2 separate regions of the Homo sapiens genome follow, and region 2 is linked to region 1. The links are contacts of gene promoters, found by promoter capture Hi-C in blood cells and fetal thymus (Javierre and others, 2016). All regions are on one chromosome and are shown on one strand. Each heading gives the region's core, a stretch centred on a gene start or on the middle of the fragment in contact. The rest is flanking DNA. Distances are from core to core; before and after follow the strand shown.

Region 1 (3,133 bases), core at 59-2,558:
TTTACAGTAATACAAAGTCAGAACAGGAAAGATACCTACTTGGGTTATATTTTCAAATCTAATAGTCACTGCTCTTAAACTCCAAAATGTACCCGTATCTTCAAATACCCTTGAAATATGCAACTACCCTAAAGAATATTTAGTTCAGAAAGCAGTACAGAAAGGTCTCAATTTACAAGAGAGACAAACAAGCACTGACTTTAGAAAACTCAGGCCAAAACAAGTCAAGGGTATGATGTGCACAACGATCTAACTGAAATGACACATTTTCCTTACTAATTAAATTAGGAAACACTTTTGTGTTCTACTTACACTCTGTAACACTGAAAACACAAACATGTTTACACAAAGGCGATGTTTTTAGCTCGTCTCACTGATGTGTCTCCAACCCTCGTCTCCCCCGCTCCTCGAGATTTGCTAGCTCCGTGAATTTCCCTCGATAGGCAAAGTTTGTCACCGATAATATAAGAAGCGCAAAAGGAATATGTTTTTTAAAATACCTAAACCTTAAAAAAAAAACCCACAAACCCGAACTATTAAAACTTACTTTCCCACCAATGCGCACTTGTGCCTGCAGTTTGGCGAGTTTTTCCTGGTTCATGATTGTTTCTTTCATCTAGAAAAAGAGGAAATCCTCAGCAAGGATAGGTTTAGCTCACTCTAGCATTCCATGCTCGTTATTTCCCAAGATACCAGCAGGAAAATAAACGTCCTACACAGGCCGAAACCTGGATCCCAAATCCACCCCGCAAAGCTCCAAATTTGGGTTTCCAGGGAGCCCAAAGAGCACCCGCCTCCCCACCACTCCCCCACAGCTCCCCGCTCTTGGCAGGCCCGGATGAAAGGCTCTACCCCACGCCTGGCCAGCACCCCCCACCCCTGGCCCTGGCCTGGCCTCGGCCTAGCCAGGGCCTGCCCGGCCCGGCCACTCTCCGCAAGCCTCGCGGTACCTGAGGCTCCTGTCCTCGGGTTCCGCCGCGAGGTGGAGGTTGAGACAGCGTCGCCTCGCCCCCAGGGCAGCCGCCCCTGGCTCGACCTCGCCCCCGAGAGTCAGCCTGAGCGGGTGCGCCTGTCCGTCGCATCGCCTTCCTCTCCTCCTCTGCCCTGTCCCTCCCTGTCTCGCTCCTTCAGGGAACTTCCCGCCCCCGCTCCCGTCCTCCTACCACGCCGCCGTCCAGAGCCTTTTTGTACCTTGTCGGAGCGAATAAGGGGCCGCGCGGGGGACTAGGGTTGGTGCTCAAGGGGTCTCGGGTGGACCACCTGAGATTAGGCGCACACACGCGGGGACGCAAGATGGCAGCTAAAGGGAGGCCGGAAGTGACACAAGGCCACTTCCTTCAAGAGTCAGGAAACTGACTTCGCCGCGAACTCGGTTCCTCCCTGCGCACGCGCGACAGCGTTTGTGATGGTCCAGCGAGTCCCTATTCTCCTCCTCCTGCTCCAGCGGCTGCCGGCTGTAGGCCCTACGAGAGACTGCTGGCTTGGGGCGCAGCCCGTACCTCTGGGAGAGGCCACAAAGGGGTCGGAGAGCGCGGTCCTGTGCACAGTTAGGGTTAAGTCCGCTCAGTCTCCATTGGGCCCTGATCCTGAAGTTCTGTGCCCTCCGAAGAAAGGGCCTATTCACGTTTCCTGGAGACGCCGGAGGTGCCCAGCTTGTGCTCACCACTCAAGCAGCTCTCCCCTTGCTGGAGGTGTGGGTTGGAGAATTGCAGAATTTCCCTCTCGGCCCGAATGAGCCATTACCAAAGCATTTTGTCAAAAATAGTGAAGTTAGTTTGGCCTTCCAAGGTTAGGTGGTGTGGTAGATTGCGGGACCGAGGTTCAGAATTTCTGGGGGCTGTATCCCCGAGCCCCACTCCTCAGAATGCAACTCTGTACGACGAAGGAACTGGGTAATCCGCATTTCAGCCAATTTAGCAGATGACTAACCACCTTAAAACGGTCCACACAATTATCTTGTTTATCAGGCAAAAAAATTGACTCCTAGGTACCGAATTGGCATGGATTTGACAATTAGCGATTCACGGTTAAGCAGACTTTATCTATCTTAATCCAATCAAAGGAGAATTTCTGCCTGCTGTGTTTGGAGAGACAACGCGTGGATGTGAGTTAAACTTTGTTAAACCCAGGACAAGCTTTAAGATAAAACGACTGATATTTAAAATGGCAATTTAAATAAAAATGTTCTCTGATCAGCCTTTTTGTGGTCTTAACCATGAAATGTCTTTGCATATTCAAAAGTGAGTCCGAAATCTTAGAATGCAATGTGTGTAGCAAGAAAACTTGTTCAAGTGCAGACCCCTCTCCAGTTAAGATCAATGTTTAAACTTTTTGAATACTTTTTACATATAAGTTTGTTGCAACTGATGTCTCAAGAACATAACTGGTGAGGACAGCTGTATTGCCTTTTAGAATAATTGTTACAGTTATATTTACAAAAAACAATGTTGCTTCAGTTAAATATGAGTGAAGTTTTAGTACAGGTAAGGGTGTTTGTAGTTAGGCTTATGTGGGTTACCTTCCTAATGACAAAGGCCAAAATGGCAGTACCAACATTATGCTGTGCTCTGGAGATATTACAAAATATATAGAAAGACTCCCCCTTTTGGAAGAAATGTGTATCTTTGTCCAGGAACAGTTTTTTTCCTCTCCTCCATGTTATATTGGAGGCATTTGAAACTTCCTAGTCACGTGATGTTTTCTGAGCTTTTATAGAGACAAGATTGTATGTATGTAACCTGCCACCTTTTTTTTCTTTTTCTTTGCCTTCCCTCTCCTCTGCCCTTTTAATACACCTGTTTTCAGGAAATATTGTGAGCTACTTTTATTTATTTATTTATTTCTACTTTTTGAAACCAGGGATGCTGCTAATTTTATTTTTATAATTTTTTTAAAAAATATAAAACTTTAAAAAAATTAAAAGAGATGGGGTCTCACTTTGTTGCTTAGGCTGGGCTCAAACTCCTGCGCTCAAAGGATCCTTCAGTCTCAGCCACTTGAGAAGCTGAAACTACAGGTGTGCACCACTTTCCCTGGCTTATGACTTTTTAATTTTCCCCTCGTTCCTACTTTTTTCTCCTGTTCTTTCATGAATTTAAAAGTTTGCTGCGTGTTGAAAATATAAAAGATTACT
Region 2 (3,350 bases), core at 1-2,500, 3.5 Mb before region 1:
TGTAACAGTGTTAGCATATCCTCACTATAAGCTAAATACCTGAGATTGACCAAGGAGCATGGTTCTCTGTTTGTACTTCTACATCAGACTTTTTATTATCTTCATTTCTCCCACGTTGGAGTATTTTACTGAGTTCTTCCACCTGAGAGAAAACAAGGCTTTAGGAAAAAGAAATCATGTAACAATCTAATAATATATATACCAGTCTCCTACCGTTACAAATAATTGTTTTAGAGAAATGTCAAGAGCAGCAAGTTTCCCTTTCAGAAAAGCTAAAATTATTATTTTACTTTATACATTTAAAAGGCATTTTTATTCCTAATCTCTCTTACTAAATGTCCAAATATCTCCTCCAAAAATCGAACTAAATAATGAGACTTTGTGAACAAGGTCCTTTATTTCTAACAAATAAGAATGCTTTTATGTTAACATTTTAAAGTCAGTTCTAAAGAATTCAAAAATTCAAAATTTACAAATTCTCATCCCTACTGGATTATCTAATACTCATTTGGTATTCTCCACTGGGAATTAACTATCCACCTGAATATGTTAATGCCACTTACAAGCTTTAATACATTTTTTCATTAAACAGTAGTCCTATAATTAAGTAACTGTAGCAGAAGAGAACAGGGAAGGTGACGGCCTGAGAGGGGCATCTGTCCTCCATGTACTTCACACACTAAAATACCCTTAAAAGGATGCTACTACATAGGACAGAGAGAAACAAGTGTGTGGAAGTGCCCAAAAGCAAGTAACATGCTGCCTCGGTCAATACGCTGCCTCAGTCAATACACCTCAGCCTGAGAGGACCTCAATGTGAGACAATGTCTACTACACACAAGAAACCAACTAAAAAACAAGCTTTTAAATATTTATTTAATGATACATAAAGCTTAAACAGAGAAAGGTGATAAAACTGATCTGTTGCTAATACTAGGGCAGGAACTACAGTGAGGGAAGCAAGACACTGATCGTGAAAAATCTGAGGCGCTCCTCTGATTCATGCAAGTACAGAGTTCATCGCTGGGAATTAGTGCCCCATTAAATTCCTCGCCCTAGGAGCCTGATTGCCTTGCCCTAAATCCTGGCTCTGGCTACTGTCCCTATCACTATGAATTAGATTACTTAGTATCTACTACATGCTGGGCACTATACTTGATGCTTTAGATAACATCTCATTAATTCACAAAACCACCTGAAATATTCGTTGTCCTAACCCCAATTTTACACATAAAATATCAGACAAGACAAAGTAATTTGCACAAGGCTATTTTGGGGTCTTGTACAAACCCTATACATATTATGGTTCTCCAGTTATCATTCTCAAGCAAAACTTTTTAACTGCTCCAAATAAAACACATTCAGTAATTTGGAATGACAGTTAATCGAATCCACCCTCTCCCCAACCAAGGGAGGCTGACTAGGAGAGTAAGGAGTTATCACTATTCAAAGTAGAGTCAAGACTTTCTATGAGATTAAATTTTTAATATTGGACTAAAATGGAGGCATGTGGAGGACAGATGATCCTCTCAGGCAATTACCTTCTGTTCGCTTCTGCTGCAGTTTAGTCACAGAACTACTATTTTTTTAAAGTGTATTAAAGCTTATAAGAGGCATTAACATTTAATAACTAAATCCACGTGAACATTGAATGATATTAGATAACATGAATGGGAATTGATAGCTCTTAAATTTTCTAATTCTTTAGGGAGAATTGCTGACCTCTCAAAATATTAGCATAAAAACATTCTTTTCTGTAAGAAATAAAGGATCTGTTCACAAAGTCCCATCATTTAGTCTGATTTATCAAATTAACAGTAACACCAAAATGCTGGCTCTCTGAAGATTAGCAAAAAACGTTTTCTTTTAGAATCTCTAACGCAAGCAGTACTTCAACAATTTAGAATTATAAAGGAGCTTTTCAAAAGGCTGTCATGTAAAAAAGGCTGTTATATTTTGCTCCCGTCTCCCCATTTTTTTTTTTTTTTTTTTTTTTGAGACGGAGTCTTGCTTTGTCGCCCAGGCTGGAGTGCAGTGGCGCAATCTCGGCTCACTGCAAGCTCCGCCTCCCGGGTTCACGCCATTCTCCTGCCTCAGCCTGTAGCTGGGACTACAGGCGCCCGCCACCACGCTCGGCTAATTTTTTTTGTATTTTTACTAGAGACAGGGTTTTACTGTGTTAGCCAGGATGGTCTCGATCTTCTGACCTCGTGATTCGCCCGCCTCGGCCTCCCAAAGTGCTAGGATTACAGGCGTGAGCCACCGCGCCCAGCCACCTCTCCCTGTTTTTTTTTTTTTTTTTTTTTTACCATATTTGTATTTTCCTAGCATAGTTATTACACACCGTAGGTGTTTAAATTGACTAAACAAAAACTTTCCAATAATGTCATGTCAGGAACTCCATGTAATGGTCATACAAAGTCATTGCAACTCAACAGTTATTTTCATAGTCCATTTGGTAACAAAACAAAGAAGTCTGATGACGTTTCAGTGTTCAGCCTATATACTGGTTTTAGGAAACCACCAATAAATTATGAAGGACTAGACAACGGTCAAATTGAAACTAGTTACTATGTGGAAATAATCTGTTGGCAGAGAGGGCCTGCCAACAAGGTAGAAAAAAATACTATGCTCTTGGTTTTTTGGTTTTTATTTTGAGACAGAGTTGCACTCTGTCGCCCTGGCTGGAGTGCAGTGGCACGATCTCGGCTCACTGCAACCTCCACCACCTAGGTTCAAGCAATTCTCCTGCCTCAGCCTCCCGACTAGCTGCGATTCCAGGTGCCCGCCGCCACGCCCGGCTAATTTTTGTATTTAGTAGAGACGCCCGGCTAAATTTTGTATTTCACCATGCTGGCCAGACTGCTCTCGAACTCCTGACCTGGTGATCTGCCCGCCTCGGCCTCCCAAAGTGCTGGGATTACAGGCGTGAGCTACCGCGTCCAGCCAAGGTTGTTTTTAATGTGACAGTTTAAGTATTAACATTTGCCCCTACCATCTTGGAAACGAAATAAGCTGCTTAACGTCTCCAACAAAAGCAGTTATATATCGTCCCTACTTACACAAGAAAGCCGAAGATGATAAACGCCCAGAAGAGCAACCTTAAACAGGTATAGCATTCAAAAGTTTGTAAAATTGTTTGTTTTACTTCACCTTTACTACTGTGAGCTATCATTCTCATTTAATGGGGAACTGAGACTCGGTATATAAGTTCACACACCCAGTGAATAGCAGAGATGGGATTCTGACTCAAGTCCAGCATTTTAATAAACTCAAATGTGATCTACAGTAAATGCGCCTACTGCCAATGGGATGTTAGGTCAAGTGAGAATGAAGACAATGTAGCCACA

The links. The method cuts DNA at HindIII sites, captures the fragments that hold promoters and counts their contacts. A CHiCAGO score of 5 or more calls a contact.
Region 2: a contact is called between a fragment that was not itself captured here and the fragment with the promoter of BTF3 in region 1, in 1 of 17 cell types (activated CD4 T cells). The highest score is 5.1, in activated CD4 T cells.

What each region holds. Positions count from the first base shown.
Region 1 is chr5:73,496,617-73,499,749 of GRCh38, reverse strand. BTF3 (basic transcription factor 3) reads right to left here and starts at 1,308. Exons shown (of 6, transcript NM_001037637.2): 1 at 951-1,308; 2 at 548-616. The coding sequence starts at 1,082. It overlaps BTF3-DT (BTF3 divergent transcript), which reads left to right and starts at 1,430. Exons shown (of 1, transcript NR_186388.1): 1 at 1,430-2,197. RefSeq lists a silencer at 824-873 and enhancers at 510-1,320, 1,084-1,383, 1,414-1,473. The HindIII fragment of the contact is 2,385 bases long and covers 1-2,137 here.
Region 2 is chr5:77,031,210-77,034,559 of GRCh38, reverse strand. AGGF1 (angiogenic factor with G-patch and FHA domains 1) reads right to left here. Exons shown (of 14, transcript NM_018046.5): 2 at 40-142. Among named protein-coding and RNA genes, the nearest start is that of AGGF1, 2.5 kb to the right of the region's middle. RefSeq lists an enhancer at 3,339-3,350. The HindIII fragment of the contact is 711 bases long and covers 895-1,605 here.